2 separate regions of the Homo sapiens genome follow, and region 2 is linked to region 1. Evidence: promoter capture Hi-C in human tissues and cell types (Jung and others, 2019). All regions are on one chromosome and are shown on one strand. The core of a region is centred on a gene start or on the middle of the fragment in contact, and the rest is flanking DNA. Distances in the headings are between cores, read along the strand shown. Region 1 holds the start of TEX19 (testis expressed 19). Region 2 overlaps NARF (nuclear prelamin A recognition factor).

Region 1 (5,732 bases), core at 2,581-5,080:
AGGACTGTGGCTTACAGGCTGAGTCTCCCTTCTTGCTCTCCCTGTTGGTCCAGGGTGAATAAGAGACTATGGTGAATCCTCTTCTGCAGGGCTGAGGCTGCAGGGACCAGCTCTGCCCTGTGTCCTGTTAACGATGTTTCTAGAATGCTCAGCATCCACCAGTGCAGGTCCTGCTCTTGGGGTGCATCTTGGAGTCTCACCACCCACACTTCACCAGGCTCCAGCAGCAATTTCCAGTGCTGCCCTGGGGTCCTCAGGGCCCTGTCTGGGGTCATCTTCTGTAGGTAGATGGTATCATAGCAGCCCACCATGGAGACAAGCTGCAGGGCCAGTAACTAGGCCTCAGCCTCGGCAGGGTCCACTGCCCAGGTAATGCCCAGCTTCAACACCACGGGCTCCCCTGGGGGCAGGTCCACTTTGAGAAACCCCTGCTATGAAGGAAAGAAGCTTGGCCAGTGTGAGCAGGTAAGAAGCTCCTCAAATCTCCAGGGAAGACCCTGGGTCCAGTCAGCATCCTCAAGGCCCAGGCCCAGGGGCACAGCCTCCTGAGGCCATAGTTCAGTGGGGACAAAGTGGGGGTCCAGACCTGCATCTTCCAACCCTTCTGGGGCTGCTGCCAGGGTCCCTGGCCCCCATGCCTCAGAGCCCCCCTGCACAGGCTGTCCTGGGCTCTGCCCCCAGCTCAGCTCCATCCCTGAGGACCCCTCCTGCTCTGACTCTGCCTCAGTGTGCTCCATCAGCTCAGGGTCCCAGTTGTCTTCTTCCCAGTCCTCTGACTCCAGCAAGTCTTTAAAGTCTAGAAAGGCAGCCTTGAAGCAGGTGAAGCAAATGCTTAGCTGATCTCCATGTTGAAGCTGATACATCCAGGAGGCGTAGAGGTAGGACATGCCCTCTTCCTCATACCGCATGCTGACCGGAGGGCACATGGCCAGGCTGCCTGCCTACTGCCGGGGTGGACAGCAAGAGCTGGGCCTTCAGAGGATCTTGGACGGTCTGGCCACAGGTGCTGAGGCCAGTAGGATGCTGGGCGGCAGGGATGAAGGGGACAAGGAGCAGGAGGAGAAAGGGGTTTCCTATCCAGGGATTTGGGGTGGGGTGGATGACCTGGGTCCCAGCTCAGTGGGGACCTGCAGAGGGTGGAAGCTTGAACTTCTGGAAATGTCTTCAGCTTCTGCAGTTGCTGTGGTCTCAGGAGAGCTGGAAAGGCAAAGGAAGGGAGGTTAGGCACCCCCAGCAGGCAGGGTGGGGGCAAACTGTGGGGACCAGCAGGGGCAGGGATGTTGGGGTTCAGACTGGCCCTTTAGTGGGGACCCTGCTCAGTTTGAACAGCACCGGGGCTGGGAGGCCTTCAGTTCCTCCATCCGACCTCCCCGGGCTCATCAGCCACCCCCTACACCTCAGGGACCCCAACAGCCCATCAGCTTCACCTGACAGAACCTGGGGGAACATGAGGGAAACTGGCAGAGCCTGAGGGGACCTGATGGAAATTGAGGGAACCTGAAGGAAACTGGGGGAACCTGAGGGAACCTGAGGGAAACTGGGGGAACCTGAGGGAAACTGGGGGAAACTGAGGGAAACTGGGGGAACCTGAGAGAAACTGGGGGAAACTGAGGGAACCTGAGGGAAACTGGGGGAAACTGAGGGAACCTGAGGGAAACTGGGGGAACCTGAGGGAAACTGGCAGAGCCTGAGGGGACCTGATGGAAATTGAGGGAACCTGAAGGAAACTGAGGCAACTTGAGGAAACCTAAGGGAAACTGAGGGAAACTGGGGGAACCTGAGGGAAACTGGGGGAAACTGAGGGAAACTGGGGGAACCTGAGGGAAACTTGAGGGAAACTGGGGGAAACTGGGGGAACCTGAGGGAAACTGGGGGAAACTGAGGGAACCTGAGGGAAACTGGGGGAACCTGAGGGAAACTGGCAGAGCCTGAGGGGACCTGATGGAAATTGAGGGAACCTGAAGGAAACTGAGGCAACTTGAGGAAACCTGAGGGAAACTGAGGGAAACTGGGGGAACCTGAGGGAAACTGGGGGAAACTGAGGGAACCTGAGGGAAACTGAGGGAACCTGAGGGAAACTGGGGAAAACTGAGGGAACCTGAGGGAAACTGGGGGAACCTGAGGGAAACTGAGGGAACCTGAGGGAAACTGGGGGAACCTGAGGGAAACTTGAGGGAAACTGGGGGAAACTGAGGGAACCTGAGGGAAACTGGGGGAACCTGAGGGAAACTGGGGGAAACTGAGGGAACCTGAGGGAAACTGGGGGAACCTGAGGGAAACTGGGGGAACCTGAGGGAAACTTGAGGGAAACTGGGGGAACCTGAGGGAAACTGGGGGAACCTGAGGGAAACTTGAGGGAAACTGAGGGAACCTGAGGGAAACTGGGGGAACCTGAGGGAAACTTGAGGGAACCCGAGGGAACCTGAGGGAAACTGGGGGAACCTGAGGGAAACTGAGGGAACCTGAGGGAAACTGGGGGAACCTGAGGGAAACTGGGGGAACCTGAGGGAAACTTGAGGGAAACTGGGGGAAACTGAGGGAAACTGGGGGAACCTGAGGGAAACTGAGGGAACCTGAGGGAACCTGAGGGAAACTGGGGGAACCTGAGGGAAACTTGAGGGAACCTGAGGGAAACTGGGGGAACCTGAGGGAAACTGAGGGAACCTGAGGGAAACTGGGGGAACCTGAGGGAAACTTGAGGGAAACTGGGGGAAACTGAGGGAAACTGGGGGAACCTGAGGGAAACTGAGGGAACCTGAGGGAAACTGGGGGAACCTGAGGGAAACTGGGGGAAACTGGGGGAACCTGAGGGAACCTGAGGGAAACTGGGGGAACCTGAGGGAAACTTGAGGGAAACTGGGGGAAACTGGGGGAACCTGGGGGAAACTGGGGGAACCTGAGGGAAACTGAGGGAACCTGAGGGAAACTGGGGGAACCTGAGGGAAACTTGAGGGAAACTGAGGGAACCTGAGGGAAACTGGGGGAACCTGAGGGAAACTTGAGGGAAACTGGGGGAAACTGGGGGAACCTGGGGGAAACTGGGGGAACCTGAGGGAACCTGAGGGAAACTGGGGGAACCTGAGGGAAACTTGAGGGAAACTGAGGGAACCTGAGGGAAACTGGGGGAACCTGAGGGAAACTTGAGGGAAACTGAGGGAAACTGGGGGAACCTGAGGGAAACTGGGGGAACCCGAGGGAAACTTGAGGGAAACTGGGGGAACCTGAGGGGAACTTGAGGGAAACTGGGGGAACCTGAGGGAAACTGGGGGAAACTGAGGGGAACTTGAGGGAAACTGAGGGAACCTGAGGGAAGCTGGGGGAAACTGAGGGAACCTGAGGGAAACTGAGGGAAATTTGAGGGAAACTGGGGGAAACTGAGGGAAACTTGAGGGAAACTGAGGGAACCTGAGGGAAACTGGGGGAACCTGAGGGAAGCTGAGGGAAACTTGAGGGAAACTGGGGGAACCTGAGGGAAACTTGAGGGAAACTGAGGGAACCTGAGGGAAACTGAGGGAAACTTGAGGGAAACTGAGGGAACCTGAGGGAAACTGAGGGAACCTGAGGGAAACTGAGGGAAACTTGAGGGAAACTGAGGGAACCTGAGGGAAACTGAGGGAAATTTGAGGGAACTTGGAGAACCTTAGGGAACCTGAGGGAAACTGAGGGAAATTTGAGGGAAACTGAGGGAACCTGAGGAATCCTGGCCCCGCTTCAGCCTCCCAACCCCTCACCCAGCACCAGGCCGTGTCTCCGAGACCCCTCCTCAGAGACCCCTCCTCGGGAGATCTCACCATCCTGGTGTCTCTGTTCATGTGGGCACCCAGGGAAAGGAGGAGGCAGAGCCCATTTGGGTATATAAAGGGCCATTTCCCATGGTGCTCTGGGCTCATCTGCATATCTCCCATGAGCCTCAGTTTCCAGGAAATGAAAGTGCTGAGTCACCAGCTCCCTCCAAGGAGGGCCATGTGCAGCCCCTGGGCACCTGCAGGAAGGCCCTGGAGAGGCAGCTCCTCTGGGGGCTGGAGATTGGGGTGGGTGCTCTCCGTCTGCAGGCTGGCACAGGGTGAGCATCCAGCCTGTGGTTGCTGGCCCGTCGTGGGCACGACGTCCTGGTCCTGCCGCGTTTGTAAAACGTGATCCCTGCTTTGCTGTCTCTGTCTTAAAGTTCTCTGAATTTTAAGAACCAGCCAATTGTCAATTAGTTATTGTTTAAACACATTTTCCCCTTTGTGGTTCATCTCTTCGCTCTTTAAACAAGACGCTTATAAATTAACACTTGTTTTTTCAGTAGACTCTATTTTTTACAGCAGTTTTAGGTTCATAGCAAAATTGAGCCAAAAGCATGGAGCTCTCCCACCGCTCCCCTGCTCCTGCAGGTGCACAGCCTTCCCCAGTCCTCCCGTCCCAGCCATTTGTTACACGTTGTTATTATCATCATCGCCCTCTGCAGTTTCCATTATGCTTTCCTCCGGTGCTGTGCATTCTGCAGGTTTGGACACATGTATAATCATGCAGACCCACCACTCTAATATTGTACAGACGGGTTTCTCCGCCCCGATTCATCTGTGTTCTGCATTTTCATCACTCCCTCTCCCAGCCCCTGGCAACCAGGAATCTTTTGACTGTCTCCTTAATTTTGCCTTTTCCAAAATGTCACAGAGCTGGACTCATACATTATGTAGCCTTTTCAACTTCTTTTTTAGTAATACGCACTTTGGTTCTTCCATGTCTTTTGTGGTTTGATAGTTCACTTCTTTTTTTTTTTTTTTTTTTTTTTGAGACAGAGTCTTGCTCTGTCACCCAGGCTGGAATGCACTGGTGAAATCACAGCTACTACAGCCTCAACCTCCTGGGCTCCTGTGATTTTCTCACCTCAGCCTCCCAAATAGCTGGGACTACAGGTGCTGGTGCACACCCCGATAAGTTTTGTATTTTTTGTGAGACAGGGCCTCACCATGTTGCCCACACTGGTATCAAACACTTGGGCTCAAGTGATCCGCCTGCCTCTGCCTCCCACAGTGCTGGGATTACAGACGTGAGCCACCTTGCATGGCCAGCTCACTTATTTTTTAACACTGAATGGTATTCCATTGTCTGGATGTACCATGGTTTATTTATCCATTCACCTATGGAAAGACATCTTGGTTGCTCCCAGGTTTGGGCAATTATGAATAAAGCTACTACAAATATTCATGTGCAGGTGTCTGTAGACATAAGTTCTCAACTCATTTTGGTAAACTCTAAGGAGTGAGATTGCTGGATGCTGTGGTCAGAGTGTGTTTAGTTTTGTAAGAAAGTGACAAATTGTCTCACACAGTGGCCCTGTGGGAGGAACCCCCAAACCCTTTCCCTACATCCCCATGACCTCTGCTCCTCCCCACCTGGCAGCTGTCTGTGCCTGGCTCAGGTCATCCACACACCTGGGGCTGCCTGCCACCCCCACCAGGTTAGGGCTCAGATCAGGGCCACCCCTCACCCTGGGGCTTCCTCGTCCCAGTCCTGGGATAGGGGCAGGTGTGGGGCTTTGGCTGCCAGGTGTCCTGCTGTGGGTGGAGAGGGCAGTGAGCTCATTCCCTAAAGACTCGGGTGCCTGAGCTGTCTGGCTGGTCCCCTCAGGTGAGAGGAAAGTAGTGGTTGAGGGACCCCACAGAGAAGCCTGTTTATGGGTCTGGGGGTCAGAGGCTCCCGGGAGGAGCCCCCAGGTCCTGGTTTTCTCTGAAAAGGCCACTCAA
Region 2 (5,265 bases), core at 2,261-4,760, 120 kb before region 1:
GTGGGTCATGGGAACCTGCAGGCCTGGAGGCTACTGGGAAATGGGAGCATCCCTGCAAGGCCGACAGACAAGTAAGAGTCGGAGTAACAGGTCCCCCAAAAAGGTGAAGGGGAACAAGCACTGAAAGGCAGCAGGAGCAGCGGCCCAGGCTGCACCGTGCAAAATCGCCTGGCCAGCTACAGCGTCCTTACAGCCAGGACACGCAGCTACCGCTCAGGGGAGAGCAGCCACATGCTTGCCCAACTTCTCTCACCGGCGAGAAACTAACAGCCCAACAACTGCACGCTTTTTAAAATATAAGAAATCTATACTCCTCAAGTCGTAATAAATAGCAACATCTGTAGTGTCACTACATGCCCGCACAATCTGAGCACTTTCCTGAGGTTGAGTGCTGCTGTGGTTTCCAGGGTGAACACAAGTCACCACTGCAGCTGACCACACAACAGCAATTCCACCGCAGGAGCCCTGCCTACTCCTTTCCCGCAGGCGTACAGCCCAGTCAGAGTGCATAAGAACATCACAGAACTTGCTGACCTGGCAACTGATTTTAGGACCTGACCCCACAGACACTTGCACACCTGTGTACATGAGAGCCACGCAACCTGCCCTCAAACAGGGGCTGGGTAGATACCTTGGGAGACTCTACTCCTGGCGGGGAAGGTCGCCCAGAGGGTGAGAGGCAGCTCATGTCCCACAGTCAGACATGATAATCCCATTTAACAATCAAAGTTTCACCTATAAAGACGCCCGTGTGTGCTCAGGAAACACCCACAGAGACACAGAAGCAGCCACAGAGAGAAATGCCCCAGGGCCGGGCGCAGTAGCTCACGCCTGTAATCCCAACACTTTGGGACTGTGAGGCAGGCGGATCACTTGAGGGCAGGATTTCAAGACCAGCCTAGGCAACACGGTGAGACTCTGTCTCTAGAAAAATAAAAAAATCATCCAGGCGTGGTGGTGCACACCTGTAGTCCTAGCTACTTGGGAGACTGAGGCAGGAGGATGGCTTTGAGCCCAGGAGTTCGAGGCTGGAGTCAGCTATGATTGCATCACTGCTCTCCAAGCTTGGATGACAGAGCAAGACTCTGTGTTGTTTTTTTGGTTGTTTTTGTTTTTTTTTTGAGACAGTCTTGCTCTGTCACCCAGGCTGGAGTGCAGTCACACGATCTTGGCTCACTGTAACCTCTGGCTCCCGGGTTCAAGCGATTCTTCTGCCTCAGCCTCCCAAGCAGCTGGGACTACAAGTGTGCGCCACCGTGTGTGGCCAATTTTTGTATTTTTAGTAGAGACAGGGTTTCACCATGTTGGTCAGGCTGGTCTCGAACTCTTGACCTCAGGAGATCCTCCCGCCTCGGCCTCCCAAAATGCTGGGATTACAGGCGTGAGCCACCCTGCCTGGCCTGACTCTGTCTTAAAAAAAATAAATAAATATAAAAATTAGCTGGTGGCGCACGCCTGTGGTCCCAGCTACTTGGAAGGCTAAGATGGGAGGATCACTTGAGCCCAAGAGGTTGAAGCTCTCGTGAGCCATGATTGAGCTGCCGCACTCCAGCGTGGGCAACAAAGTAAGATCCTGCTTAAAAAACTGTTGGCTGGGTGGAGTGGCTCACACCTCTAATCCCAGCACACTTTGGGAGGCCGAGGCGGGTGGATCACCTGAGGTCGGGAGTTCTATTCCAGCCTGGCCAACATGGTGAAACCCTGTCTCTACTGAAAATATAAAAATTAGCTGGGCGTGGTGGCAGGCGCCTCTAATCCCAGCTACTTGGGAGGCTGAGGCAGGAGAATGGCTTGAACCTGGGAGGTGGGGGTTGCAGTGAGCTGAGATCTCGCTATTGCACTCTAGCCTGAGCAACAAGAGCGAAACTCCGTCTCAAAAACGCCAGGTGTGGTGGCTCATGCCTGTAATCCCAGCACTTTGGGAGTCCAAGGAAGGCAGATCATCGAGGTCAGGAGATCAAGGCCAGCCTGACCAACAAAGTGAAACCGTGTCTCTATTACAAATACAAAAATTAGCCAGGCGTGGTGGTGCATGCCTCTAATCCTAGCTACTCAGGAGGCTGAGGCAGCAGAATCGCTTGAACCCAGGAGGCAGAGGAGCCGAGATCACGCCACTGCACTCCAGCCTGGGCAACAGAGCGAGACTCCATCTCAAAACAAACAAACAAACAAAAAAGTGTTAGCTGGGCACAGTGGCTCACTGCTGTAATCCCAGCACTTTGGGAGGCCGAGGCAGGCGGATCACCTGAGGTCAGGAGTTTGAGACTGGCCTGGCCAACATGGTGCAACCCCGTCTCTACTAAAAATACAAAAATTAGCCGGGCATGGTGGCAAGTGCCTGTAATCCCAGCACTTTGGGAGACTGAGGCGGGCGATCACCTGAGGTCAGGAGTTTGAGACCAGCCTGACCAAAATGGTAAAACCCTGTCTCTACTACAGATACAAAAATTAGCTGGGCATGGTGGCATGCACCTGCAATCCCAACTTCTCAGGAGGCTGAGTTGGGAGAATCACTTGAACCTGGGGGATGGAGGTTGCAGTGGGCCAAGATCACACCAATGCACTCCAGCCTGGGTGACAGAGCGAGACTCTGTCTCAATAAATAAATAAATAAAATAAAAAATAAAAAAAAGTCTTGACCAGGATGGAGCTTATGTTGAGAAATAAAGTTTATACTTTTTATCTTTTAATTCTGTTCTTCCACAAACTTTTTGCAGTCTCCTTACATTTGTTGATTTCCTTATGAGAGGTCCTACTGGGATGGAACCTTCTCAAGTCACTGAAGGAACTAACTCTGCTGATGTGAATCCTGAGCAGATTGCTGATTTGTATAGAAACGGTGATCCCTCCGCCTGTGGCAGTGAACACAATGCTAGGTAGGGGCCCTGAGAGGTCTCTTCTCAGTGACGGCATTTCTGAGAAATGTGTCACCAAATCCTTTCTCTTCTCCAGCCACTGGCTGCAGGCCAGCCCCTTGCTTCCTATTTTAGCTTGAGATTTGCTGTATGTATGTAGTATATATGTATGATTGACAGGGTTGCTCTGTTACCCAGGCTGGAGTGCGGTGGTGCAATCACGGCTCACTGCAGCCTCGACCTCCTGGGTTCCAGTGAAGCTCCCACCTCAGCCTCCCGAGTAGCAGGGACTACAGGTGCCCGCCACACCTGGCTAATTTTTTGTATTTTTAGTAGAGACGGGGTTTCACCGTGTTAGCCAGGATGGTCTCAATCTCCTGACCTTGTGATCCGCCCACCTCGGCCTCCCAAAGTGCTGGGATTACAGGCGTGAGCCACTGCGCCCGGCCTAAATTTTTTATAATTTAAAAACCACTGCTCCAGGGGCATGGGCCTTAGTTCGTTGTCATTTTACACGGCCTCTTCCTTGGTTGGGGGTGGAACTAAGCAAGTGTGACTGGTGTTGTGAAGCCATGTTGTGTGTGGTATCATGTAACAGGGTCCCAAAAGGAAAGCACTCCTGCAAGGGGACCACAGAGGCAGGCTCAGGCTCAGCACACAAACACCAGGTACTCCCAGGTTGCTGGAGTCCAGGCAGCCCCAGAAACCATCAGGTGTGGAAATTATCCCTTTACACCTGGAAACACACCCAAAATGCCACAAGAGCTGAATGTAACACCCACAATCTAGTAAAAGGCTGTATCTGGCGTCAAATGGCTTATACTTCGACCTCTGATACAAAAATCTGTGAATCACTTACAGTAAGGCAAACCATACAGCTGAAAGAAGTCACTAACATCCCTGTCCCCATCTGGAGCTGAGATCACAGCAGGCTGTGGGTTGCTGGTGAACGATACAGCTCAAATAACGAGCCAACCAATGCAGCCCATGGAACAGATGGTAAATTTCCTCTTTATATTTTATAAATGGCTAGAGAGTAAGTCCGTATTCTAAGCAACCACGATGTCAATGTTCCATCTTATTAATTCATAATCCTAATGACTAAAGGTTGACATGTAAAATGCCAGAAAAATTTGAAACCATTGTAGGGGGAGCATAAATTAAGAACTGAAACGTGAACCAAACCCTAAAAATTATACAGCCTACGACTAGCTTAGATAGAGCTCTCCTATGCTCCCACAGGCCTCATGTAGTAGAATAATTTTTAACTAGTGTTGTTTGCCAGGATAGCCATTCCTTCCTTATTCCCTTATGCATCATCGAAGATTTCTTAACCCAAACTCTCTATTTTTCCAGAATTGAAAAGCATGTGACAAATCTCTTCTATAACTCAGGCATCCAAAAACCAATTAAAGAGTGGTTTAAACAGTGCGCCCTGAGAGTATCTGAATATCAATGTAAAGAAATTTTCTTATTCTGTATTTTTTTTAAGCTGGCAAAAGATACATGCACGTTTGCCATATTATTCCATAATTATTTGTACATCTGAGATATGTTGTACTTTCAAGAGAAAACGGATTTTCTTAAGAGACAGGACCTCAGTCTTTCGCCCAGGCTGGAGTACAATGGAGGAGTCATAGCTCACTGCAGCCTCTAACTCCTTGGCTCAAACACCTCAGGCTAGGATTCGTAGTAGCTGTGATTACAGGTACTTGCCACCACCCCTGGCTTTTTTTTGTTTTTTTTTGCAGAGACGAGGTCTCACTATGTTGACGAGACTGGTCCCACACTCCTGGGCTAAAGCAATCCTCCCACATCAGCCTTCTAAATTGTTGGGATTATGGCTGTGAGCCACCATGCCTGGCCTATTTTTCTTTTCCTTTTAAAAAATATTTATTTAAAAAATTAGAGGACGGGTGTGGTGGCTCATGTCTGTAATCCCAGCACTTTGGGAGGCCAAGGCGGGCAGATCACTTGAGGTCAGGATTTCAAGACCAGCCTGGGCAACATGGCGAAACCCCATCTCTACTAAAAATACAAAAATTAGCCAGGCGTGGTGGCGCTAGCCTGTAATCCCAGCTACTGGGGAGGCTGAGGCATAAGAATCGCTTGAACCTGGCCAGGCACAGTGGCTCACGCCTGTAATCCCAGCATTTTGGGAGGCCGAGGCAGGCAGATCACGAGGTCAGGAGATCGAGACCATCCTGACTAACACGGTGAAACCCCGTCTCTACTAAAAATACAAAAAGAAATTAGCCGGGTGTGGTGGCAGGCGCCTGTAGTCCCAGCTACTCGGGAGGGTGAGGCAGGATGCACTCCAGTCTGGGTGACAGAGCGAGACTCTGTCTCAACAACAAAAAAAAAAGAATCGCTTGAACCTGGGAGGTGGAGGTTGCAATGAGCCGAGATC

The links. The method cuts DNA at HindIII sites, captures the fragments that hold promoters and counts their contacts. A contact is called where the count stands out against the background at its distance.
Region 2: a contact is called between a fragment that was not itself captured here and the fragment with the promoter of TEX19 in region 1, in 5 of the 25 tissues and cell types used here (IMR-90 fibroblasts, dorsolateral prefrontal cortex, mesenchymal stem cells and 2 more).

Annotation. Positions count from the first base shown.
Region 1 is chr17:82,357,345-82,363,076 of GRCh38, reverse strand. TEX19 (testis expressed 19) reads right to left here and starts at 3,830. Exons shown (of 2, transcript NM_207459.4): 1 at 3,792-3,830; 2 at 1-1,197. The coding sequence starts at 926. The coding sequence ends at 432. RefSeq lists an enhancer at 1-135 and a silencer at 2,350-2,644. The HindIII fragment of the contact is 14,968 bases long and covers 796-5,732 here.
Region 2 is chr17:82,473,358-82,478,622 of GRCh38, reverse strand. The region is part of intron 5 of NARF (nuclear prelamin A recognition factor); the gene reads right to left. Among named protein-coding and RNA genes, the nearest start is that of NARF, 17 kb to the right of the region's middle. The HindIII fragment of the contact is 9,427 bases long and covers 1-5,265 here.